Regions from separate parts of the Homo sapiens genome. Here all the other regions are linked to region 1. The links are contacts of gene promoters, found by promoter capture Hi-C in blood cells and fetal thymus (Javierre and others, 2016). All regions are on one chromosome and are shown on one strand. The core of a region is centred on a gene start or on the middle of the fragment in contact, and the rest is flanking DNA. Distances in the headings are between cores, read along the strand shown. Region 1 holds the start of NANS (N-acetylneuraminate synthase). Region 2 holds the start of FOXE1 (forkhead box E1). Region 3 overlaps TBC1D2 (TBC1 domain family member 2). Region 4 overlaps TBC1D2 (TBC1 domain family member 2).

Region 1 (6,403 bases), core at 2,665-5,164:
TTACCAGACTAGCCAGGACAGCCAATATTTCTGGCTTTTGAATTCTACCACAGGTAACCTCCCATGTGAAATTAATACATTTTAACTAAGGTCATAACTTAACCATGGATGCATAAAGTGTCTTAAAGAGATGGTAAGCAGTTTTTGTTTTCGTTTTCTAATAATTAGAGTCTCCCCAAAGGTAGTTCAGCAAAAGTAAGAATAAAGACAGAAAACCAGAATCGGTCCATGGGGAAAAAGAATCAATAAATGGCAAAAAGTTACACAAATAACAAACCAGAAAGGGCTCACTCCCTAAGCCCCCTGAGCCAAGAATTGAACCTGGGCCACCACTGTCAAATGCCAAAGCCTTAGTACTGAGCTACCGCATTAAGCACTTTCTATTGCTCTTCCCAGAAGGAAGATTTTGAGCTTGCGAAGGCTTTTAACTGCTCAAGATAATTTTTAGGGCTACCTATGACATGAACCCCAAAATTCCTGTCCTCTGGATGGCAGAATCCAAGATAAAGTATCCTCACATGGTCACAAGGTTAAGTTCAAGGACATAAAACAACATGAGAGAGAAACTTCATCTGGTATTGGTTTCAGGGACTCACAGAAAAGTTTGTAAGTGACCAGCCTGCTGAACTGGCTTTGGACAGTTGGCTTATATGGCTCCTAAGTCCATGTTCTATCCTGTGATGCCCCCTCCATTATAGAACAACACAGAAAAACAAATTCATAGCACTAAGTACACCAGATTTTCTATAGCCTAAACTAGTCTCATAAGTCTTTTTTTCTATTAATCAGACCTTTGTAGAGGAGACAGTGATGTTTAACATACACACACACACACATACAGGCCAGAAAGTTGGCTAATAAGTTGTTACCCTTTTTGCCGGCATACCAGGTTTCCAGGTTCCCTTTCTCTGCAGCTTCCAGAAGAACGGAGCGGCCTTTGATAACTGTTCACTATGCTATAGCTGTGGGGGCCAAGCCCACTACAAAATAAATAAATAAATAAATAAATAAATAAATATCATCCTTTTCTGTTTTATGGAACCATAGGCAAAGCTTCTCAACTTTGTAAGATGCTGCCCGATGGGCTGCATGGAGAACCGAATTAACATTTTCCGTCTCAGCTGAAGCAAAATACACATAACAAAACAGATAGTAGTCACCTCATTGGGCACCCAGTATCACCCTAGCAAGGCTCAAACTGTCTTCCTTTGGTCCCTATCATCTTTGATCCACTCAAGGTGGGGAGGGATGGCATCAATGAGTAGTCTCTGGGCAAGACAAAGAGCAGAGAGTTACCCCTTAACAGTCAGGCCTGTTAAGCTTTTTTTTCAGAGCTCACTGAATGTGACCATACTTACAGAGGGTTTTCTGAGTTAGGCCTGCTGGACTTGCATCAGAAATTCCCTCAGAGATCCCCTCCACATATACAAACACACACACAAAGACAAGACGGACAGAAGGCCTTCCAAACCAAGATCCCTAACCAAGAATTCCAAGAGTATTCCTTCCAAACTATCCTATTCTCCATCTGAGAAGTCTCCCCGAAATCTTACTGATTGAGGAGAAGTCTCCAGAACCAAGACTCTTCCTACTAATTAGGGAGAGTAAACCGAGACCCCTGAAGAAGCTGAACCAATTGGGAGAAGGAAAGGGGTGTTGGCAGCACCTAGACTACTCACCAAATCAGACACCCCATAATGGGGCTGCAGCTGCAGACAATCCATGATGGGGCTACAAACAGACACTGTGATAAGGTTACAGTTACAGGCACCCCATGGTGGAGCTACAGAGGGACACCTTGCCATGGAGCTCTAGTTATGAGATATCTCCCCAGGACAATTTCTCTATTGCAAAGTGTACTCCATACATATTGGGCTAGTAGTGCCCTGCCGATAGAGATGACGCCAGAGTCAGCCCCCAGTCCAAAACTAGGTGGCCGCTTGGGCTGGCCTCTGGATCCATCGCCAGAGGGGGTCTACAGAACCGGGGCAGGTAGCACAAGAGCAATCCCGAATGAGCCCCCAAATTTTTAACTGCTCAACTGGTTCACCATGCCCACTACCTACACAGCTGATTTATCAAAATAGGGGAATTGCAATAGAGAGAGTAATTCATGCAGAGCCAGCTGTGCAGTCTGGCTGAGTTTTATTATTACTCACATCAATTTCCCCTAGCATTCAGGGATCAGAGGTTTTTGGGGTTTTTGTTTGTTTGTTTTTGAAATGGAGTTTCGCTCTTGTTGCCCAGGCTGGAGTGCAATGGCACAATCTCAGCTCACTGCAACCTCCGCCTCCCAGGTTTAAGCGATTCTCCTACCTCAGCCTCCCAAGTAGTTGGGATTACAGGCATGCACCACCATACCTGGCTCATTTTGTATTTTTAGTAGAGACAGGGTTTCACCATGTTGGCAAGGCTGGTCTCGAACTCCTGACCTCAGGTGATCCACCCGCCTCAGCCTCCCAAAGTGCTAGGATTACAGGTGTGAGCCACTATGCCCCACCTTGGAGATCAGAGTTTTTAAGGATAATGTGGTGGGTTAAGAGAGGCCAGTATGCCAGGAGTGCTGATTGGTTGTGTTGGAGATAAAATCATAGAAAGTCAAGGCTGTCTTCTTGTGCCAAGTCAGTTCCTGGTTGGGGGACACAAGATCAGATGAACCAGTTTATCAATCTGGTGGTGCCAGCTGATCCATCAAGTGCAGGGTCTGCAAAATATCTCAAGCACTGGTCTTAGGTTTTACAATAGTGATGTTATCCCCAGGAGCAATTTGGGGAGGGTCAGAATCTTGTAGCCTCCAGGTGCATGACTCCTACGTGTCTAATCTTGTGGCTAATTTGTTAGTCCTACAAAGGCAGTCTAGTTCCCAGGAAAGAAGGAGGTTTATTTTGGGAAATAACTTATCTTATTTTTTAAATTAATTAATTAATTTATTTATTTTTGAGACAGAGTCTTGCAGTGTCACCAGGCTGGAGTGCAGTGGTGTGATCTGGGCTCACTGCAACCTCCACCTCCCGGGTTCAAGCGATTCTCCTGCCTCAGCCTCTCGAGTAGCTGGGATTACAGGCACGCACCACCACGCCCGGCTAATTTTTTTGTATTTTTAGTAGAGACGGGGTTTCTCCATATTGGTCAGGCTGGTCTCGAACTCCTGACCTCAGGTGATCTGCCTGCCTTGGCCTCCCAAAGTGCTGGGATTACAGGTGTGAGCCACCGCGCCCGCCCAGGTGATTGTATTTTAAGAGCCTGGGGCTGGGAGGTCCGGGTACTAGTCCCATCTCTGCTTTGGCTTTCTGGATGGCTTTGGACAAGCCAGTGCAACTTCTCGAACCTGTTGCCTCTCATATAATAGGAACCTCCGCCACTTCTTGAAAACTTACTACAAGCCAAGTATTGTGATCAGGGGTTTCTATACGTCATCTCACAGTTCTATTTTATTTTTTTGCTTCAGAGAGAAACAAAAATAACGCTCCGGAAGACTGAGTAACGTATATATGAGCAGGAGCTGGTGACTGGCATAGGCTGGACTCGATCCAGCTCTGTGATTCTAACTCTAGCAACCCTGTTTTTTCCATTACACCATAGGGCGCGCTCTCCCCATGCTCCTGAGAGCAGGACATAGACTATGCCCTGCGCAGGCAGCCGTCCGCCTCCTGCAGGGAATGCTTGCTCCTGGGTGCACGCACGGATACCGCGATGGTCCGAGACCACGCTCTGGGACAGCAAGCCTCAAGCCTCGCACAGGAGAGGGCCGCGGAGCTTCCTCGACCCGCCCCGCCGCCCTTCCCGCGGGAGGCCCCGCCCCCGCCCCCCGCCCCGATTGGCTGTCGGGAGAGAGGCGGGGCCTAGGGGATTGGCTGCCCGGCGACCGCGGGCTGACGTGGCGGGGCTGGCGTGTGGGTCTCGCAGCGTTGCTCACAGAACAGAGTAGAGGCGGCGGCGGCGGCGGCCGGACCCAGACTGGTAGTGAGGCTTTGGACCCCGAGCCGCTGCAATGCCGCTGGAGCTGGAGCTGTGTCCCGGGCGCTGGGTGGGCGGGCAACACCCGTGCTTCATCATTGCCGAGATCGGCCAGAACCACCAGGGCGACCTGGACGTAGCCAAGCGCATGATCCGCATGGCCAAGGTGAGGCGGCAGCTCCCGGGACCCGGGATTCGGGCGCCGGGAGGGGCGGGGCGGGGCCGCGGGGAGCCAGGGCCACACGGCCTCCGCGGCTGGGTACCCTGGTCCGGCCTCTTCCCGCCCGCCAGTTCCGTTTTCGGAATCCTTCGGATCCCTCTTCCTCACCGTGTCCGCCACCCTCGTGACCTTTCTGCATTACAGCAGCTGCCTCCTAACCCGACCTGTTTCCTCCCCGTTCTGGTGCCAGAATAATCTTTCTAAAAGTCAGACTTGATCAGACCATCCCCCCTGCCTGGCACCTTCTGTGGCTCCCTCCTGCCCGCGGGTAGAGTCGAAACCCTTTAACATAGCCTTCAAGATTTTAATGACTGGGCCCCTTCCAGCCCGTCATAATTCTTCTCTGACATTCTTCAGCGACACAGAGTTACTTTCAGGAATGACAGTTCCTGGAAGTTGCTGTGGTCTCTCTCACCCGCCATTCCCTGTATATGAAATATGAAGTGGTTAAAAGCCGGGCCTTTGAGTTCAAATCTCAGTTCCACCACTACTAGCTGTGTGAACATGGGCTGCTTACTTAGCCTCCGTGAACCCTTTTCCCCATTTGAAAACGGGGCTTGAAAACAACAGTTCTTTCCACATGGAGTTGTTATGGGGATCAAATGAGATTCTCAGATAGAGCTCTGAGCCCAGCACTTGGCACACATGAGTCGGTAAATGCGTGCTCCCTCTTCTGTTGGGACTGCCATATTCTTCATTACGACCCCAGCCCCCAGCATAAGGCCTGGCCTGCACTATGATTCTTTGGTTTAGAGATAGCTCACCCCATCTTTCCTTTCCCTTCATCAATGCTACTCAACTGATTTTGTATCATTTGTGATAGGTTTTTTAAATGTTTATTTATTTATTTATCTATGTTAGAGACAGGGTCTTGCTCTGTCACCCAGGCTGGAGGTTTTCTCTTACTGTTTTTTTTTTTTTTTCCTGGTTTTTTTTTTTTTTTTTTTTGAGACAGGGTCTCTGTATCACCCAGGCTGGAGTGCAGTGGCATGATCCCGGCTCACTGCAACCTCTGCCTCCCAGGCTTAAGTGATTCTCCCACCTCAGCCTCCCGAGTAGCTGGGACCCACAGGCGTGAACCACCATGCTGGGCTAATTTTTTTGTAGAGATGGGGTTTGGCCATGTTACCCAGGCTGGTCTCGAACTCCTGAGCTCAAGCAATCTGCCCACCTTGGCCTCCGAAAGTGCTGGGATTACAGGTGTGAGCCACCACCCTCGGCCCTTGCTGTTCCTTCGGGACTGGTTTTATGGAAACCTAATCACTGAATCATAAAAATACTTTACAAAAATAACATTGCTAACATTTTTTGAGTGCTTACTCTACCAGGTACTAAGCTAAATGCTGTACATGCACCATCTCATTTAATTTTTACAACAACCCAATGCCATGATGCTGCCGATTTCATTTTAAAGGCTAAGAGAAAATAAGTGACTTAGGCAAGGTCACATAGCTAGTATAATAAATACAGTAAGGGGTTTTTTCAGTTTTTGCTCCTAAGCCACAGGACTCCAGCCTTTCTTCTGCAACATTGTTTTCTAGAGGGAAATTCCCACTCTTAATTTGAAGGAGCAGTCTGTTTTTCCTCTTGGAATGCCGAAGTTGTAGAAATATCTAGAGATACTGAAGCCATAGAAACAAAGCTGTACTGACCAGGTGCAGTGGCTGATTCCTGTAATCCCATCACTTTGGGAGGCTGAGGAAGGCAGATTGCTTGAGCTCAGGAATTCGAGACCAGCCTGGGCCACATAGCGAGACCCTGTCTCTAATTCCATTGAGCTGGAATCTAGGTGGCTGCAGCCTTTAGGAAAGGGATCTGGCCAGCTCTGCTAGAGACACTGTGCAACTTTAGTCAGGTCAGTCTGGGCCTTGGGATCTTCATCTAGACAATGAGAGCTCTGTTGCCCAAGGTCACTTTCAGTTCTAATGTTCTTTGAACTTTCCAGCATCAAGTCCTGACTCTACCATCTTATGATTTGTCTAAGAGCAGGAGTAGTGATCTCAGCACTGACATTTCTGGACCCAAGAAGTTTTTATTTTTTTTTTTCAAGACGGAGTCTCGCTGTGTCACCCAGGCTGGAGTGCAGTGGCGTGATCTCGGCTTACTGCAAGCTCCGCCTCCTGGGTTCACACCGTTCTCCTGTCTCAGCCTCCCGAGTAGCTGGGATTACAGGTGCCCACCACCACACCTAGCTAATTTTTTGTATTTTTAGTAGAGACGGGGTTT
Region 2 (6,403 bases), core at 2,078-4,577, 200 kb before region 1:
CTTCCAGCTTGAATTTCCATGGTTTCTTTAATAGAAGAACTGGTTACCTCTGCGTCTGCATGCAGGGGAATCTCCGTCAAGGAATCTGGAGGAATTTTCCTTGACTCCTTGGACCCCTCTCGTTTTTATTTACAAAGTCGCCCATTCAAAACTGAGGAAAGCAGCTGTTGCAGAAGAACATCTTCTAAAGATTCCCAATAGCACCTCCAGCCCCCTATGCACATAAAATGGCCTGCTGCAGGCTGGCTTCTCCAGGGGTGCTGGGAATACTTGAAGGGCTGAAGATCAGTGGGAAGCAGAAATCACTGGCCTGCCCACATCAACACCAACCCACCCCTGCTGGATTGGGAGAATGATTTCCAAGGGTCTGGAACCTGCCCTTCCTAACTTCCAGATGATTCATAAACGTTAAGGAGCACTGTGGCAGAGAAGAGGGGAGGACTTGGCCATGACCATGTTCCTTCTCAAGAAACTGAGAAGGAAGCAATGGGAAGAGATAGGAAATGCCCCGAGGAGATTTTTGTGTATGGTTTTGATCCAAACGGGTAAACTTGTGACCTGTGTACTCACCAAATCATTTAATGTGAACTCACTGTGGACTCACAGAATCTTCAAATGCATTATTCAAAGAGAACATTTATGAAATAGAAATTTAGGGGTCCTTGGTTTGCGAAAATCTTAGAATCATGATCTTGGAAATTCTAATCTCATGATGCTAGGTATTTGGTCTCGGCCACAGGAGTAGCTTGATATTAACAAAGTTTGAGAAAACCATCAGAATTCTAGAAGAATGAGGTCACAGACACAAGACACTGAAGAACAGAAAATCCTGAGACAAGAAGGCTTTTAGCCATAGTCGTTGCAGCTTAAAAGTAGAGGATCATAAAGTCATGGGACTAATCATTACAGCATATAATCACAAACATTAGAAGAATTATTGGAATCAGATTATTTGAACTACAGAATAGCAGATCCAGCACTAACATTTTAGAATTAAGGAAGGAGAGAACTGCGGATTTACAGGATTCAAATTCTTCCAATCAGACATTCCTAAACAGGAATTCAAATTAAATAATATATAACTTAGAGTGGAAAAAATAAAAAACTGGAGAAGTGGCAGCTTCAAGAGTGGCATCATATTTTCAGGCACAAAATCTTAGGTCCCCGTTTTTTGTTTGTTTTGTTTTGCTTTTAAGAGACCGGGTCTCCCTTTGCTGCACAGGCTGGAGTGCTGTGGCTACTCACAGGCACAATGATTGTGCACTACAGCCTGGAACTCCTGGGCTCAAGCGATCTTCCTGCCTTAACCTCCAGTAGCTGGGACTACAGGCTCCCGCCACCGTGCCTGGTTTAGTCCCAGTATCTTAATACATAGGTTTTTAGACTTTGACTAGAAGCTTAAGTCAAAGGAATATAAGCATAGTCAAAGTTAGACTCCCAGTCTTGGAATCTTAGAATTACAGGGTCGCAGGATCGCAGGATCGCATTCTTTAGATTTATGGAATCACGTTAGGACAACGGTCGTCCAGAATTTAAAATCTAGATATCTGAATCTCAGAATCTTGAAAGTTACTGAGAGCCACGAAATCCCGTATTAAAAGGTGCCTATAATATAATCCAGTTAAAAATTTTAAAATTTGAAGTTTTTCCTCCTTTGTAAAAACGAAACAGGACGAAATCTGGGTTTTTTGCTTCTCCATTACTTGGGAAGAAGGAAACCAGGAGTTTTGTTTAGCGAGTGTAAAGCCCCTCTCCCTTCGTTCGACCAACCCTCTGCCGCAGAAGGTTGTCAAGCAAACGCTTTGAGCGTTTCCACACACCGGGTCGACGGAGCAAGGATCTGGGCTTTGCCTCGCTCTTCCGAAGGCAGCTGCCCAACGCTTGGCCGGGCTTAGCCTGCCCTCAGCTCACCGCCACGAAGAACGCGACTAAAACCCTGGAAGGCATGCCACCCGTTACTGGCCAGAACTCTCGTCTTGGGATCTCCCACACTCACCTGGCACCACCATCCGCGCGGCTCTGCACCCACAGCCCCGGCCCGCCCCCCCCCCCCACCCCGGAAAGCTGCGTCCGGGCTGGAGCCACTGGAACCCGCGCCAAGGCCCGGAATCCTATACGTAGCAGGGGCCTCGGAGATCAGCACACGCCCTCCAGCTGCTATTTAACAGAGTAGAACACTGAGGCCCTGCGAGGGGACAAGGACAGGCCCTGGATCTCCCAGTGAATGGCCAGGGAACGAACCCGGGCCAGAGGGGCCGCGCCGCGAGGATCTCAGGTTAGGACCAAGTTCCGGCTCAGGGACAGCAGGAAAGGAACTCAGAAATTGGACACCCATGAAGCAAACGTGTCCCGACTGCCCGCCCCTTCCCCCGGAGACGCGCCCACCCGGCCACCGCTCTCTTCCCACTCCCCCATTACCCGCAGCCCTCACTCCCCGCTGCGGGAAGGGGCTGCTTGGCTGCCTCTGGGGGTCTTCAGAGCTACCCTGGTCCCGGGGGATTGGAGGAGGAGGTTACCTATCCTGCGTCGTCTTTAATCCGTGCACCACTATCCATCAAATAGAGACAGATCCTGGGCCTCTCAAAGACGGATGATTGGGGGTGGTGATTGGCCTATCCCTAAATATCTACCACGCAAGGACTCTTGAGAGATCCAGACCCCGGTACAGTCGAGGGACCTGGGGCCCAAAAAGGGAAAGCGGCTACCTCTACCACACAGTTGGGAAGCGCAGTCCTAAAGGAGACGCAGGTTGGAGACTCCGCTAAGCGGAGAAGCCGCAGTGGGGCCATGGCAAGTCACCTTCCCTTTCGGGCCTAGGAATACTCATTCGAAAGATGGGGGGACTGGAGTGCCGAGTGGCTGTGGCAGCCACGATTGGGGTTTGGAAACCATCCTGAAAGGCCCGGGGAGCCAGTCTCCTGGAACTTCTCCCTCCCCATTCCCACAAAAACCAAGCGCCCTCTCGGCCAATTCTCACCCTCTCAGGACAAAAAAGTGAGATGAGCCCGTCCTTTCACCTGCGAGTCCAAGCCCTTGGCAGAGGCCTGAAAAGTCCGAAAACTCCGAGTTCGGGCGCTGAGGTCTCCCGAGCCGGTTCCTGAACTCTCCGGGCCTCAGTCGATCGGGGTGCGGAGGGGGCCGACCCGGGGGATCTCCAAGCGCCCTCCCCGCCCTGACGCTGTGGGGCTCCTACCGCGCCGCCACAGCTGCTCCTACCTGGGGAGGTGCGCCCGGGCCCCGGGGGGCGGGCAGTCGGGGGGCGGGCAGGGAACCGGTGCCGCCCCACGCTTCGTGGCCCCTTTAAGGAGGGGAAGCCGGCGGAGGGAGGAGCCGGTCCGGTGTGTGCAGGGGAGCGCCTCGCCAGCGGTCCGCAGGGCTGGAGACCCACGCCGTGGAGAGGACCAGCCTCAGGTCGCCCCGCCTGGGCCCGCGCCCCGACCTCGCTGCCCCCGCCTCGCCTCTCTGCCCGTGGCGCTTACGGCCACCTTGGCCTCGGGGGCAGGGCATGGGCGGCCCCCGCCAGATCGCCCAGCGCCAGTACTAACTGCCCTCGCTCTGGCCTTCGAGCCCGAAGCCTCTTCTGCGCGCACAACCTAGGCAGTAATCCTAAACTAGCGGGCACCACAGACCAGCTGCAGCCACCCCAACCCAGGGATCACTTCCGGACCCCTCGACCGCCCGGCACCAGCGCGCAAGGGACCCTTCAGCCGGAGACCAGAGTCCAGTCCCGGTCACGAGGCCACCGCCGCTGCCCGCCTCGAGAAGCACCACGCGGGCTGAGCCGTCGGCTAGCGGGTCACTCCCGAGCCTCTGTCTGCACCGCGCCAGCCCCAGACCACGGACGCTGAGCCTCCAGCGCGTGCCAGCCTGGGCCGCTGGGCTCTCGGGGCCAGCCCGCGACGATCCCCTGAGCTCTCCGCAGAAGGGCCGAGCGTCCGTTCCGGGGACGCCAGGCCCGCCCCCGCCCCCCGACAGCCGCGGGGATCCAGAGCCCGGGGGTGCGGGACGCCCGCGCCATGACTGCCGAGAGCGGGCCGCCGCCGCCGCAGCCGGAGGTGCTGGCTACCGTGAAGGAAGAGCGCGGCGAGACGGCAGCAGGGGCCGGGGTCCCAGGGGAGGCCACGGGCCGCGGGGCGGGCGGGCGGCGCCGCAAGCGCCCCCTGCAGCGCGGGAAGCCGCCCTACAGCTACATCGCGCTCATCGCCATGGCCATCGCGCACGCGCCCGAGCGCCGCCTCACGCTGGGCGGCATCTACAAGTTCATCACCGAGCGCTTCCCCTTCTACCGCGACAACCCCAAAAAGTGGCAGAACAGCATCCGCCACAACCTCACACTCAACGACTGCTTCCTCAAGATCCCGCGCGAGGCCGGCCGCCCGGGTAAGGGCAACTACTGGGCGCTTGACCCCAACGCGGAGGACATGTTCGAGAGCGGCAGCTTCCTGCGCCGCCGCAAGCGCTTCAAGCGCTCGGACCTCTCCACCTACCCGGCTTACATGCACGACGCGGCGGCTGCCGCAGCCGCCGCCGCCGCCGCCGCCGCCGCCGCCGCCATCTTCCCAGGCGCGGTGCCCGCCGCGCGCCCCCCCTACCCGGGCGCCGTCTATGCAGGCTACGCGCCGCCGTCGCTGGCCGCGCCGCCTCCAGTCTACTACCCCGCGGCGTCGCCCGGCCCTTGCCGCGTCTTCGGCCTGGTTCCTGAGCGGCCGCTCAGCCCAGAGCTGGGGCCCGCACCGTCGGGGCCCGGCGGCTCTTGCGCCTTTGCCTCCGCCGGCGCCCCCGCTACCACCACCGGCTACCAGCCCGCAGGCTGCACCGGGGCCCGGCCGGCCAACCCCTCCGCCTATGCGGCTGCCTACGCGGGCCCCGACGGCGCGTACCCGCAGGGCGCCGGCAGTGCGATCTTTGCCGCTGCTGGCCGCCTGGCGGGACCCGCTTCGCCCCCAGCGGGCGGCAGCAGTGGCGGCGTGGAGACCACGGTGGACTTCTACGGGCGCACGTCGCCCGGCCAGTTCGGAGCGCTGGGAGCCTGCTACAACCCTGGCGGGCAGCTCGGAGGGGCCAGTGCAGGCGCCTACCATGCTCGCCATGCTGCCGCTTATCCCGGTGGGATAGATCGGTTCGTGTCCGCCATGTGAGCCAGCGTAGGGACGAAAACTCATAGACACATCGGCTGTTCACACGTTCCCCGCAATCTGAGAACGAACAGGAATGGAGAGAGGACTCAACTGGGACCCACGTGGAAAAGACCGAGCAGGCCACAGAGGCTCGGTCTCCCCGCGCACAGCGTAGGCACCCGGTGTACTCTGTAAACGGGAGGAGGTGGGGCGAGGCAGCCAGAGCCCTTGGACTGGCACAGGGACCCTCGATGGAGCGAAGCCCTCAAACGGGATGCTTTCTGGTATTCTATCGGGGAGGGTCCTTGGCGGTAACCAGAGGGCAGCGTAGTGTCAACACCAGAGACCAGGATCCAAATTGTGGGGAATCAGTTTCAGCCTTCCATGTGCTGCCGGAACTCGGGCCTTTTTACGCGGTTCGTCCTCTAGTGCCTTTAACTGCGTTACTACAATAAAAGGCTGCGGCAGCGCCTTTCTTCTTAAAGTGAGGAGGACAAATTTGCAAAAGAAATAGGCTTTTCTTCTTTTTTAAATTGGAGAAATCTCTGCTCTGGTTGACCTGGGCTGGTTTTCCCTGTCTCTGAGAACTTGAGACCTAGCTCCGAGTTGAACTGTGCGTCAGCACTCCAGTCCCATCACCTGAACCTTCAGTCTCCCCCATCTGTTACACTAGAGGGCTGCAGGACTCTATCCACCGCCCCCGGGTTATCATTCAGGGCCCCATCATCTTGGATGCTGCCCTGCGTATTTGGCAGCAATGGTGGGCCACCCAGGGCCTCTGAGTAGCCACCCAAAGCCTAGCCGCTGTTCTAGGGAACGGAAAAGAGTTCATGGCCAAGCGTCTAACCTAAAGTCCCAGGATTGGCTCCAGGCAGCAATTATATCATAACTTATTGAACTTTTGAGCAGGACGTGCTGGTAATTTCATGGCTGTTACTGCCCAGTCATAAATCTGCTTTTCCATTATAAGGCAGAGAGAAGTACATTCGTTCATTTGTCCACTGTTTCTTGTCATCACGCAGCCCTGGACCCAAAGGGTGAACTAAAGTTTAAGGAGATGAGAGGATTCAAGGAGCCCGTTGGTGACGCCTTTCAGTAGCTGGGGAGGGCTCTTCCATCCCCAGCACCCCCTGCTACACCTCAGCAGCCTCCCCCATGCAAAAAGGAAAGAGAAAAATTAAGTTAGGGCAGTCAGTAAAGTGAGCTTTAGAAAGAAACTGGAATTTTAACTTCATTTTGTATCTTGCTTAAGTAGCAGGCTCACTAAAATTAGAGAAAGTCCAATA
Region 3 (6,403 bases), core at 1,754-4,253, 180 kb after region 1:
CACGGCTCACTGCAGCCTCGACCTCCCTGGCTCAAGTGATCCTCCCAGCTGAGCATCCCAAGTAGCTGGGACTACAGGCTTGCACCATGATCAGCTAATTTTTTTATTTTTTTGTAAAGACAGGGTCTCCCTGTGTTGCCCAGGCTTGTCTTGAACTCCTGGGCTCAAGCAATCCTCCAGCCTTGGCCTCCCAAAGTGCTGGGATTACAAGCGTGAGCCACCATGCCCAGCCTCTTCTTAATTTTTTACTCTGAAAAAATTATAGACTCACAGGAAGTTGCAAAGATAGTGCAGACATGTCCCAAGTACTCTTCACCAAGCTTCCCCTGATGGTGACATCTTACATAGCTATAGTACACTATCAACTCTAGGAAACTGGTGTTGGTACAATATGTGTGTATAGGTCTATGCCATTTTATCACATGTGTACATTTGTTTTTGGTTTTGTTTGAGACGGAGTCTCACTCTGTCACCCAGGCTGGAGTGCTGTGGTGCAATCTCGACTCACTACAACCTCTGCCTCCCAGGTTCAAGTGGTTCTCCTGCCTCAGCCTCCTGAGTAGCTGGAATTGTAGGCACTGGCCACCATGCCCAGCTAACTTTTGTATTTTTAGTAGCGTGGTGGTATTAACAGGTGGGGCCCTTGGGAGGTGATCAGATTTAATGTCATGAGGGTGGAGCCCCTGATAAGATCAGTACCCTTAGAATAAGCAGCAGAGACCAGAGCTCTTTCGGCCACGTGAACACACAGTGAGAAGGTGGCCATCTATCTGCAAGCCAGGAAGGGAGCCCTCACCACACATTGAATCTGCCGGCACCTTGATCTTGGACCTCCCAGCTTCCACACAACTGTGAGAAATAAGTATCTGTTATTTAAGCCACGCAGTCTATGGTGTTTCAGTAAGTAGCCCAAGCCAACTAAGACACACACAAAAGCACAAATGCTGGTTCGCTGGAAGGAAAGAAGGCACTTGTGCCAGCCGTGAGGAGCTGGTCCCTGAAGGCAGCTCAGCCCTGGACAGAGGCTCACCTGGGGTGCTGGCGTCAGAGGCCAAGGGCTGCTCCTCCCTCTGAGGCTCCCCACTCTGTGGAGAATCTTCCCCTGGAGGTTCATGGCCTGTTCCCTGGGCCTGCTTGTTGCCACGGATGTTGTGCATTGTGTTCCTGAAAGGAGACAAGAACAGAGGAGCATGAGGCTGAACCCTGCCTTTCTGCCCTTCTGTCCTTCCCGCCACCACTGCTGGAGCTCAGGTCTCATCCCCACACCCTGTCATCCTGACTGGTCTCCCAGACTCCAGGCACCCTACATGATGCCTCCCCATGCATGGCACTCCCAATCTCCTTTACCTATCTCTTTCGCATTCTCATCTTCCACACACTATGTGGCTTATAAGTAATACAAGCTTGACTTCCTTAACCCCCACCCCTGCAGCTGGAATATAAATGCCATGAGGCGGAGGTATTGTCCGTTTTGTTAACTGATGCACCTACAATGCCTAAACGGTGCCCAAAACATAGAAGGTGCTTAATATGGGTGTGTTGAGTGAATGCTGAATGGACTTGCTGAACCAACTTTCCCGAAACCTTCATCTGGTTTCATAACTATCTGGCTCAAAAACCATCAGTGGCTCCCGACTTCTGCTGAGATAAGTTGCAAACATCTCCTGGCATCTTTCCCTGCTTGCTCTCTTTCCCTGCTCAGATCTGTCCTCTGTGCAGCCTTCACTGACCATCTCATGGCCTCCAAGGGGCTTAGTGTACTTCGCAGCGGGGTCACCCTTTGGCCAAGTACTTGTCTAGGCTGAAGCCTCATGATGTCATTTCTTTAAGAACCGGGTACTAACCTACCTGCATGTTTGCTGGTGCCCAACACTGGGTTGTACATGCCAGAGACCGGGCTCAATACATGTTTGGTTTATAGAAGGGAACTAGATAGTACCAAAGGCTGACCTAAGATCACAGACCACAGAGAAGTTCATAATGAGCTGGATGTAAAAACAGTTCAAGGAGTTTATTTTCCCTTGCAAAGAGATAAGATTAATGACAGGGAGGGAAAATGATGAAAGGAGTTCACTAGGTCAGTGTATTTCGAACTGAAAGTTCCCACTCATTGGTAGATTGTAAAATCAGTTTAGTGTCATGACCAGCATTTAAAAAATGAAATAGAAACTATCAGGGCTGCTGCCACCTGCCTGCATCCACCTGTGTTGCATCGGAATCCTGAGGAGCTGTTGGGTGGTCCAGACCAAGGCTGGCTCGTGTGGAAGTCATCCTTGCCTCTGTTTGCCGACCCTCCCATCCATCCTGTCTCCCAGTGGTCGTCATGCGGCGCACATCTCCTGCCTGCTGTACTAGTTCCATTTGCTCTTTTGGAAGCAGGAGCTAGAACTGACGCTTGTGGGGCTACAGGACTTAGGCCAAGACCAGCTTTGTGAATATCACTGCGTCAGGTCAATTTAGTGAAAACATGATACCCACAGTGAGCTTCGACACGAGGAAAGTAACTAAAGGTAACATCACAGTAAAGATCTGGGATATGGCTGGGCACGGTGGCTCACGCCTGTAATCCCAGCACTTTGGGAGGCTGAGGTGGGTGGCTCACGAGGTCAGGAGTTCAAGACCAGCCTGGCCAGGATGGTGAAACCCCGTCTCTACTAAAAATACAAAAATTAGCCGGGCGTGGTGGCGCATGCCTGTAGTCCCAGCTACTCGGGAGGCTGAGGCAGAGAATCGCTTGAACCCGGGAGGCGGAGGTTGCAGTGAGCTGAGATTACGCCACTGCACCTCCAGCCTGGACGACAGAGCGAGACTCCATTTCAAAAAAAAAAAAGATCTGGGACATAGGAGGACAACCCCAATTTCGGAGCATGTAGGAACTATATTGCTTAGGAGTCAACGCTATTGTTTACATAACAGATGGTGCAGATCGTGAGAAGATAGAGGCCTTGAGAAATGAGCTACGTAATCTAGATAAACCACAGTTACAAGGAATTCCAGTGCTAGTACTTGGAAGCAAGAGAGAGATCTTTCTAATGCCTTGGATGAGAAACAGCTAATTGAAAAAATGAATGTCTGCTATTCAGGATAAAGAAATGTGCTACTATTCAATTTTTTGCAAAGAAAAGGATAATGTAGGTATCACACTTCAATGATTTATTCGACATTCAAAATCTAGAAGCTGAAGCATCTCCTGAAGTCTTCCAATCCTTCTCAGCTATAATCCTAGAATTATTGTCTGTTTCTCTAAAGCACTTCCCAAAATACGGTCCTTCCTAACCCCAATAAATTGTCTTTTTCAGAGTTTATTTCTCATGTGCATTGCTGAAGATGTGTATCCCTAATCCTTCATAAGAATCAGCAAGTTGTCGGCTGGGCACGGTGGCTCACGCCTGTAATCCCAGCACTTTGGGAGGCTGAGGTGGGCAGATCACGAGGTCAGGAGTTCGAGACCATCCTGGCTAACACGGTGAAACCCTGTCTCTACCTAAAATACAAAAAAATTAGCCATGTGTGGTGGCGGGCACCTGTAATCCCGGCTACTTGGGAGGCTGAGGCAGGAGAATGGCATGAACCTGGGAGGTGGAGCTTGCAGTGAGCCGAGAAAGCGCCACCTGTACTCCAGCCTGGGTGACAGAGTGAGACTCCATCTCAAAAGAGGAAAAAAAAAAATCAGGGAGTTGTCATGATCAAGTCAGCACATACAAAACATACACATATCTTACACATACTTGTCTTAAACTGTATAGAGCTTTTTAAAATTTTATTTATTAAAAAAAAACAATTGACCATCTTAACTCAAGAAGATTGCATATTTCCATCCTGGTCTTTCTGGGCCAGATTTTTGTTGTTGTTGTTTGAGATGGAGTCTCACTCTGTCACCCAGGCTGGAGTGCAATGGCACGATCTCGGCTCACTGCAACCTCCACCTCCCAGGCTCAAGCGATTCTCCTGCCTCAGCCTGCCGAGTAGCTGGGATTATAGGTGCCCACCACCACACACAGCTAATTTTGTATTTTTAGTAGAGACAGGGTTTTGCCGTTTTGGTCAGGCTGGTCTCAAACTCCTGACTTCAGGTGATCCACCCGCCTTGGCTTCCCAAAGTTCTGGGATTACAGGCATGAGCCACCGTGCCTGGTCTGGGCCAGATTTTTATATTGGTTTTCAGTAAATGTTTATCTATAACATTTCATTATAGAGTCCAGTAGCTTGATACTGATACTGACTTGATACAGCATGAAGTTTCTAGTGCCACACACAGTTTTTAGAAAACCTTTAAGCCTGGCTCATGTGGGATATAAACATAATGTTTATCTTATCTCACAAATGTATGTGAAATGTATAATTACACCTTAGGAATCCAAAAATGGTCTGCAAAGAGTGAGCGGAGGCACCAGATCAATGTTGTTGGTTCTTTACACTGGTGAGATTCTACTTGATGAGTATTAAAAACACTGCTTTCTGAGAATTCTTTATCACAAAATAGCAGTTGGGGATATGGGAGGAACTAAGGCATGCTTTGTATCTGTGTAGATCATTACTTCCATTTTTTTTTTTTTTCCTCATTCAAAATACTTTTCATGGGGTTGGGAATTGATTATTTCTCCAAAGCTTTTATGAATTTAAAGCATGCCAGTTAAGATAATAAAATCTGTTAAGAATGTCAGACTTTGGCCGGGTGCAGTGGCTCACGCCTGTAATCTCAGCACCTTGGGAGGTCAAGGCGAGTGGATTGCTTGAGGCCAGGAGCTCGAGACCAGCCTGGCCAACATAGTGAAACTCCGTCTTTACTAAAAATACCAAAGTTAACCAGGCGTAGTGGCTCATGCCTGTAATCCCAGCTTCTCGGGAGGCTGAGGCAGGAGAGTTGCTGAATGTCACTTGAACTGGGAAGGCAGAGGTTGCAGTGAGTGGAGATTGCGCCACTGCACTCTAGTCTGGGTGACAGAGCAAGACTGTCTCAAAAAAAAAAAAAGAAAAAAAAGAAAGTCAGGCTTTGCTGAAAAAAAAGAAAGAAAATATCAGAGTGCACCCCACTTAGTGCACCTTGCAACAGCACCACTGTCTGGATTACTATAGCTTTGTAGTAGTGTTGATATTGGGAAGAGTGCGTCTTCAAACTTTTTTTTTCTTTTTTTTTTTGAGATAGAGTCTTGCTCTGTCGCCCAGGCTGGAGTGCAGTGGCACGATCTCGGCTCACTGCAACCTCCACCTCCCAGATTCAAGCGATTCTCCTGCCTCAGCCTCCTGAGTAGCTGGGATTACAGGCGTGCACCACCATGCCCGGCTAATTTTTTTTGTATTTTTAGTAGAGACGGGGCAAACTTTTTTTATTCTTCAAGATTATTTTGGGTACTCTGGGGCTCTTGAATTTCCAGGATCTTGAATTTTAGGTTTAACTTGTTAATTTCTGTAAGGAAGCCACCAGAATTTTGATGGTGATTATATTGAATCTGTAGATCAATTTGGGAAGTATTGTCAGATTAATAGGTTAACAATATTAAGTCTTTTTTTTTTCTTTTTTTTCTTTTTTTTTTTTGAGACAGAGTCTCACTCTGTTGCCCAGGCTGGAGTGCAGTGGCACAATCATGGCTCACTGCAGTCTCTGCCTCCCGGGTTCAAGCGATTCTCCTGCCTCAGCCTCCCAAGTAGCTAGGATTACAGGAATGTGCTACCATGCCCAGCTAATTTTTGTATTTTTAGTAGAGACGGGATTTTACCATGTTAGCTAGGCTGGTCTTGAACTCCTGACCTCAAGTGATCTGCCCACCTTGGCCTCCTAAAGTGTTGGGATTACAGGCGTGAGCCCCTGCGCTCAGCCTAGCAATATTAAGTCTTTTGATTCATGAACATGAGATATCTTTCCAGCTACTTAAGCCCTTTTTTTCAACAATGTTTGGTGTTTTCAGAGCACACATTTTGCATCATTATGTCAAATTCATTCCTAAATATTTAATTCTTTTTCTAATATTGTTATGGAATGTTTTCTTAATTTTATTTTTGGGTTGTTTATTACAGGTGTATAGAAATACAACTGATATTTCTATATTGATCTTGAATCCTGCAACCTTGCTGAACTAATTTCTTAGCTCTAATAGTTTTTCCTTAGGATTTTCTGTAAACAAATATCATGTCAACTGCAAATAAAGATAGTTTTACTTTTTTCCTTCCCAATCTGGATGCCTAATTTCATGTTCTTGCCTAATTGGCCTGGCTAAAGCCTCCAGAACAATGTTGAATATTCCTGATTTTAAGGGGAAAATATTCAGTCTTTTACCATTAAGTATGTTAGCTTTGCATTTTTCATTGATTCCCTTTATCAAGCTGGGGAAGTTTCGTTCTACTTGTTTTTTTTGTTTTTTGTTTTTTGTTTTCTGAGACGGAGCTGCTCTGTCGCCCAGGCTGG
Region 4 (6,403 bases), core at 1,276-3,775, 160 kb after region 1:
AGGAGATGGGCCCTGAGGCCAGTGGTTTACAGCAAGGCAGGCAAGAGAGGCCCAGGCCCAGGTTGGAGCTGGTTCAGAAGAAAGAGGAGAGGGGTGTGCAGAGACAGCACAGGCTCTTACACAGCTTACAGTCCCATCCTGGTTCAGCCACTGCTAGCTGGGTGGTCTGTGGCAAGTTACTTAACCTTTCTGTGCCTTAACTTCTTCATCTGTAAAATGAGGATCATACAGAGTCTGCCTGAGGATTTGGGTGAGGATCAGATGAGCGGATGTGTATAAAGCCCTTCCCAGGGTGCCTGGCACAGAGCAAGCTCTGCAGGTGGTATGACTGAACAGCGCCCAGGGGATGGACACTGCCCTCATGCCCTCTGCTGCTGCCACCTAGGCTCCTTCTGTTCCTCCAACACACACCCCTCCCACTTCACAGCCCTCCTGCACCCTCTTCCCTTGCTTGGGACACTCCCCCCAACCCTACCTCACCTTGAACTTTTGTGTTTACATTTATACAAGCTGGGTGGTGCTAGGCAAGTCAGGCAAGTTCCTTGTTTTCCATTTTTGTGAGATGGGGACAGTGAAAATCCACTCATAGCACTGCCATGATCTCTGGGCCACCCCGAATCCTATCTCATCCTGGGGTGGCAGCAGGGGAACAATTCTGTTGCACCCTTGCCCGGTCGCCATCTCCAAACACTTGCCGGGCACCAGCTCCAAGCCATCCTCTGTGCCTGTTCTTCTACCTATCCCACCTGGTGCCCACCTCTGTTGCCTGGGCTGCTTCCTGAGTCCCATCGTTAACACCTGTTTCAGGGATTCCTTTTTTTTTTTTTTCCTGAGAGAGTCTCGCTCTGTCATCCAAGCTGGAGTGCAGTGGCATGATCTTGGCTCACTGCAACCTCTACCTCCGGGGTTCAAATGATTCTCGTGCCTCAGCCTCCTGAGTAGCTGGGATTACAGGTGTGCACCACCACGCCCAGCTAATTTTTGTATTTTTGGTAGAGGCGGGGCTTCACCATGTTGCCCAGGCTGGTCTTGAACTCTAGCCCCAAGGGATCCACCTGCCTCGGCCTCCCAAAGCGCTGGGATTACAGGCCTGTGCCACCGCACCTGGCCCCTTCTCAGGGATTTCTGCTGCTGATTCCAAACAATCTCCCTACTTCCAGGCCCACCTTCTCAAGCCCACCCTCCTGAGCAGTCACAGCAGTCTTCTTGGAACAGGAACAGAAGTCTGATTGAGGACTTCTCCACTCAGAATCCTTCAGCTCCCCAGTTTCCTTGGAGTAAATTCCAAACTCCTCAACTCCAGCCTCATGTCTCACTCTCCCTAGCCCTGCCCCCCACCTCTCAGACCACACGTCTTTACTATGCTGTCTCTTTTCCTGGAAGGTCCTTCTCCACTGCTTGCCTGGATAACATTAACTCATCCTTAGGACTCAATTCAGAAGGTACCTCCTCCAGGAAGCCCTCCCTGACTTTCCTTCCTCCCTTTGGGCCCCCAAGAATCCCACAAGTCCAAGTGCATCTTTTTTTTTTTTTGAGACAGAGTCTTGCTCTGTTGCCCAGGCTGGAGTGCAGTGGCGCAATCTCGGCTCACTGCAAGCTCCGCCTCCCAGGTTCACGCCATTCTCCTGCCTCAGCCTCCCGGGTGGCCGGGACTGCAGGCGCCCGCCACCATGCCCGGCTAATTTTTTTTTGTATATTTAGTAGAGATGGGGTTTCACCGTGTTGGCCAGGATGGTCTCAATCTCCTGACCTTGTGATCCACCCGCCTCGGCCTCCTAAAGTGCTGGGATTACAGGTGTGAGCCACCACGCCTGGCCCCAAGTACATCTTGATTGGGTTACACTCCCTCACTAGTCTATACCCTCCTTGTAGGCAGGAACCAGCCTTATTGGTCTTGATGTCCCTACCCCACAGCTACTCAGTGAACGCTGCGGAACAAATGACTCAATCCCCCGACCACAGGGGTCTGGAGAAGAACCTGATATGGGCCCTGCTCACAAGGGGTCAGTTCAGAGGGAGAGGGGCAGACAGGAAATGAGGAGAGTGAGACGGAGTGGGCAGCATGGGGACCAGCAGAGGGGCCAGGGATGGAGACGGCTGGAATAGGGCCCCACCCCGCACCTTCGTCAGAAGGGCCTTCTCCTTCTCAGCCACCTTTCTCCAGATCTTTGTGACCTGGTGGATCTCGGAGTTGAGGAAGCAGTTCTGGGTCCGGTAAGCTTCCATGTCATCCTGGAGAAGAGAGTAAAATATGTTATCAGTTGGACATAAACATCTCCCTGGTCCTGGGGAGTCACACCCTCAAATGAGCCCCCAAAGCTTCTTTTCCTTAGAAATTTCCAATAATGGCAACAGAAGAGGAAGTCTGAAAGAAAAATAAAATACTCATAGCACCCTTCTCTATTCTTGATGTCAGCATGATGTGGTAAAGGGACCAGTAGGTCTGAATTTAAGTCCTGGCTGATGTTCTGGCTGGAAGGCCTCAGGCAGGCCACTGAACCACTCTGACCCTCTGTTTCCTCATCTGTAAAAGGGGCAAATACCAACTAACCTACTGGGCAGTTGGGAAACTAAGTGAGATAATGTGTGACAACACTAAGTACAGGGACCAAAACATAGCAAGTGCTCAAGTAGTGTTTGTTTTTAAAATCAACATATTTTATCATATATTTACAATCATACTGTAAAATTAACTCAGTGTCACTTTGTAAAACCTTTCAATGTTGCTACATAAGCTTCCCAGTGATCATTTTTAACCTCTGGTGATGATTCTATTGGGTGAATTTACCAGAACTTACTCATAATCCTTTTCCTGTCATTTTTTAATTTGAACCTGGGGTGTTTGCAGTTGGTTTTTGATTATGAATAATGCTGTGATAAACATCTCTGAGTTTTCCTTTTGCAAGTTGCCCATCCAGTGGAGGGAATGAGCTCCCTGCTGCTGGGGCATACAAGGAGAAGCCAGACAAGCACTGGGAAGGTTCAAGCAAGGACCTGAGCCTCAGAGAAGGATCAGCTATAGCAGTGGCTCTCAATTCTGCTGGGATGGACATTACAGAAGCCGTTCAGTCACGTAACACATTCTTAGAGCTATACCTCACAATTCCAGGGTATTTACTGGCTGAAACTCAGGCCCTTTCTCTCCCATTGATGTATGGGCTGGAGGTGAGTGCAAGCGATGCTGCAGCAAGGATGACTCCGACATGGCCAGGTTGATTTGGAAATGAAGAACATCACATGTGCAAGCGATGCTGCAGCAAGGATGACTCCGACGTGGCCAGATTGATTTGGAAATGAAGAACATCACATGTGCAAGCGATGCTGCAGCAAGGATGACTCCGACGTGGCCAGGTTGATTTGGAAATGAAGAACATCACATGTGCAAGCGATGCTGCAGCAAGGATGACTCCGACGTGGCCAGGTTGATTTGGAAATGAAGAACATCACATGTGCAAGCGATGCTGCAGCAAGGATGACTCCGACGTGGCCAGGTTGATTTGGAAATGAAGAACATCACATGTGCAAGCGATGCTGCAGCAAGGATGACTCCGACGTGGCCAGGTTGATTTGGAAATGAAGAACATCACATGTGCAAGCGATGCTGCAGCAAGGATGACTCCGACGTGGCCAGATTGATTTGGAAATGAAGAACATCACATGTAGTTTGGGGCACATCCTCGTCAGGGTCACATGTGCACAGCCCACAGGTGGTCCTGGCCCTCCCTGGGTGGGTCTTCACTCTGGCCAAGATGATCTCCAAGGTCTCCCCAGGCTGGAAGCTCCGATGCCTGCCCAGGGGCTGCTGCCCTCCGCCCAGAGCCTGACACACTAGAAGGGCCTCTGCTCCCAGGGGAGGGAACGAATGCCCCCTGTTGACTTTATCACATCACCCCTCACCACTCCACGGGGGCTCTCTGTGGTGCCCCAACCCAGGCCACCCCTGCTTTCATCTCCCTCGCTGTGCCAAGGCTGAAAGGCTGTGCATCCACTCAGCTTGCTCTCTGCCTTCTGGCTGGACCCAGGCAGTTCCAACCCCTGGCGCCACCCTCCTCCCCCTATCCAATCCTGTCCCTGACCTAGATAAAAAACCAGCTTCACTGCCTCTCAAAAATGCTGCTGTGTGCGCCAGCCGCTCTGCTGGCAAGTTTCTGCCTGCTTCTTCTCCACAGTCCCCATATCCTATCCTTATGTGGCAAGAAGTGAAAATCTTGTTTGTGGCACAGGGACCAGTCTCCCATGAGCATCAGGCCTTTCCTGGACCACTCCCCACTCTCTCTGGAGTCTAACACTTTACTGTCTGGAGATATAGAAACTTATGAATACAGAGGCTGTGCAGGCTTCCGGCATCACCCCCATCACCAACACCACGCAGCATATATTCTCTCACTTCATCCTCCTAGCAACCCTAGAAGGGATGTTCTTTTATTATTCCTATGACACAGATGAGGCCTCAGAGGCTCTGAAAGGGTAGGCAACTTGCCTAAGGCACAGCCAGTATAAGGCAGATGTGACCAAACCCAGGTCTGTCTGATTCTTTTTGTTTGTTTGTCTTGCTCTGTCGCCCAAGCTGGAGTACAGTGGCGTGATCATAGCTCATGGCAGCCTCGACCTCCTGGACTCAAGCAATCCTCCCACCTCAGCCTGTCAAGTAGCTGGGACTATAGGCAGGCACCACCATGCCTAGCTAATTTTTTGATTTTGTAGAGACGAGGTCTCACTATGTTTCCCAGGCTGTTTTCAAACTCCTGGCCTCAAGCAATCCTTCCACCTCGGCCTCCTAAAGTGTTAGGATTACAGGCATGAGCCACTGTGCCTGGCCAGGACTGTCTCATTCTAAAGCCCTAATCACCAAACTTCCTGCCGGGCACCATCTGAGCTCCCCACCAGCTGGAATCCACCTGGATGCCCACACTCTAGTCCCTACCCTCCAAGCGTTGTCCTTTGGTGTCTCCTGGCTACACGCATGCAGGCTTATGTGACCTCTCCTACCCATCAGACAGTATAACAACACATCAAAGACGCTGGAGTTGGCCATGTACCGGCACCGCCTGGTGGTCAGTGGCATGAATGCTGCGGGCACGCTGTCTGGGTGGAAATTCTGTCTTGACCACTGAGCCCCTGGACAAGTTACTTAACCTCATCCTCTCATCTGGAAAATGAGGATAATAACAGTACTACCTCATGTGGCTGGGAGAGGATTCAGTGAGTTAATATGTGCAAAAGGCTCAGAACGGTGCCTGGCATGTGGCAAGTGCAACGTGAGCGTGAGCATCGTCTCCCTCACTGAGTTTGCATGACAGCTCGAGAGCTACTATTCCCCACCCTGCACCCACCCCCTCAGTCGGCTCACAGAGTTCGGAATCCAATGCCCGGGAAAATACAACAAGCCCCCCCGCAAGGGAGGAAAGGACCTACCATGACCTGACCCATCTCCCTCATATCCACAAGGCTGTGGGATAACTATTAAAGTGCCCTAATTCCCATTTAACAGATGAGGAAACACACACAGAGAAAGTAAGTTCCCCTTGTCACGAAAGAGAGCCAGGATCCAAACCCAGGTGTGTTCAGCCCATGGCAGGTGCTCAGCAGACACTGCGTAGAGAAAGCAGACCCAGCTCTGGCGCTGGCCACTGCTCCACACCACTGGGTCTCCCTCCTTGATATCACCCCTTCCTCCTCCCAGGCCTAGATGTGCTCATGGATATTTATTTATTTTTCTTTCTTTTTTTATTTTTAGAGAAAGGGTCTCACTTTGTCACCCAGGCTGGAATGCAATGGCATGATCATAGCTCACTGCACTCTTGACCTCCTGGGCTCAAGTGATCCTCCTGTCTCAGGCCCCTGAGTAGTTGGGACTACAAGTGTGTGCCACTACACCCAGCTAATTAATTTTTAATTTTTTAAAAAGGTCTCATTATGTTGCCTAGGCTGGTCTCAAACTCCTGGCCTCATGCAATCCTCCAACCGTGGCCTCTCAAAGCACTGGATTGTGAGCCACCACGCTTGGCTACACACTGTTATTTCTAAGGCTTTGGAAAGAAGGCTTTTGTCACATAAGATACCCTGCTTCCAGCTCTAGGGAAGGCACAGACATGCCGGACAGGGAGGCAGAGTGAGCACAGCCTGGAACAGCAGTGGCAGTGGGTGGCGTCGGGCAGTACCTCCCCCTCCAGCTCGATGCCCTACCTTGAGTGCTCGTCTTGGCTCAGAACTGTAGGGAGGAAAAAGAGAAACCTCAGAAAAGAGAAAAGCCACAGGACAGTCACCAGTGGAATGAAAGAAGGAAAACCCTGGAGAAGGGGGACCAGGGAAGCAGGAGCCCGGGAATTCTCTTTGGGCCATGCCCATGGACTAGGCCCTGTGCTGTGTGGAAGGCAGTGGCCTGGGCATGGGAGGCCAGGTT

What was found. Contacts are between HindIII fragments. The CHiCAGO score rates a contact against its expected background, and 5 or more counts as called.
Region 2: the fragment with the promoter of FOXE1 here is called in contact with the fragment with the promoter of NANS in region 1 in 3 of 17 cell types (monocytes, neutrophils and naive CD4 T cells); the score reaches 6.3 in monocytes.
Region 3: a contact is called between a fragment that was not itself captured here and the fragment with the promoter of NANS in region 1, in 9 of 17 cell types (total CD4 T cells, naive CD8 T cells, non-activated CD4 T cells and 6 more). The highest score is 12.6, in total CD4 T cells.
Region 4: a fragment that was not itself captured here is called in contact with the fragment with the promoter of NANS in region 1 in 9 of 17 cell types (total CD4 T cells, non-activated CD4 T cells, activated CD4 T cells and 6 more); the score reaches 14.2 in total CD4 T cells.

Annotation. Positions count from the first base shown.
Region 1 is chr9:98,052,818-98,059,220 of GRCh38, forward strand. It overlaps NANS (N-acetylneuraminate synthase), which reads left to right and starts at 3,915. Exons shown (of 6, transcript NM_018946.4): 1 at 3,915-4,123. The coding sequence starts at 3,992. It also overlaps a transcript of TRIM14 not described here. RefSeq lists enhancers at 3,424-3,473, 4,514-4,633 and silencers at 3,664-4,013, 4,094-4,263. The HindIII fragment of the contact is 20,554 bases long and covers 1,319-6,403 here.
Region 2 is chr9:97,849,899-97,856,301 of GRCh38, forward strand. FOXE1 (forkhead box E1) reads left to right here and starts at 3,328. Exons shown (of 1, transcript NM_004473.4): 1 at 3,328-6,403. The coding sequence starts at 4,017. The coding sequence ends at 5,138. PTCSC2 (papillary thyroid carcinoma susceptibility candidate 2) reads right to left here and starts at 3,182. Exons shown (of 11, transcript NR_147055.1): 1 at 3,018-3,182. RefSeq lists an enhancer at 1,795-2,296. The HindIII fragment of the contact is 6,931 bases long and covers 1,396-6,403 here.
Region 3 is chr9:98,232,386-98,238,788 of GRCh38, forward strand. TBC1D2 (TBC1 domain family member 2) reads right to left here. Exons shown (of 13, transcript NM_001267571.2): 4 at 1,031-1,164. It also overlaps the pseudogene LOC100131625. Among named protein-coding and RNA genes, the nearest start is that of MIR6854, 6.4 kb to the left of the region's middle. The HindIII fragment of the contact is 3,205 bases long and covers 1,402-4,606 here.
Region 4 is chr9:98,210,987-98,217,389 of GRCh38, forward strand. It overlaps TBC1D2 (TBC1 domain family member 2), which reads right to left. Exons shown (of 13, transcript NM_001267571.2): 7 at 2,122-2,232. Among named protein-coding and RNA genes, the nearest start is that of MIR6854, 15 kb to the right of the region's middle. The HindIII fragment of the contact is 416 bases long and covers 2,318-2,733 here.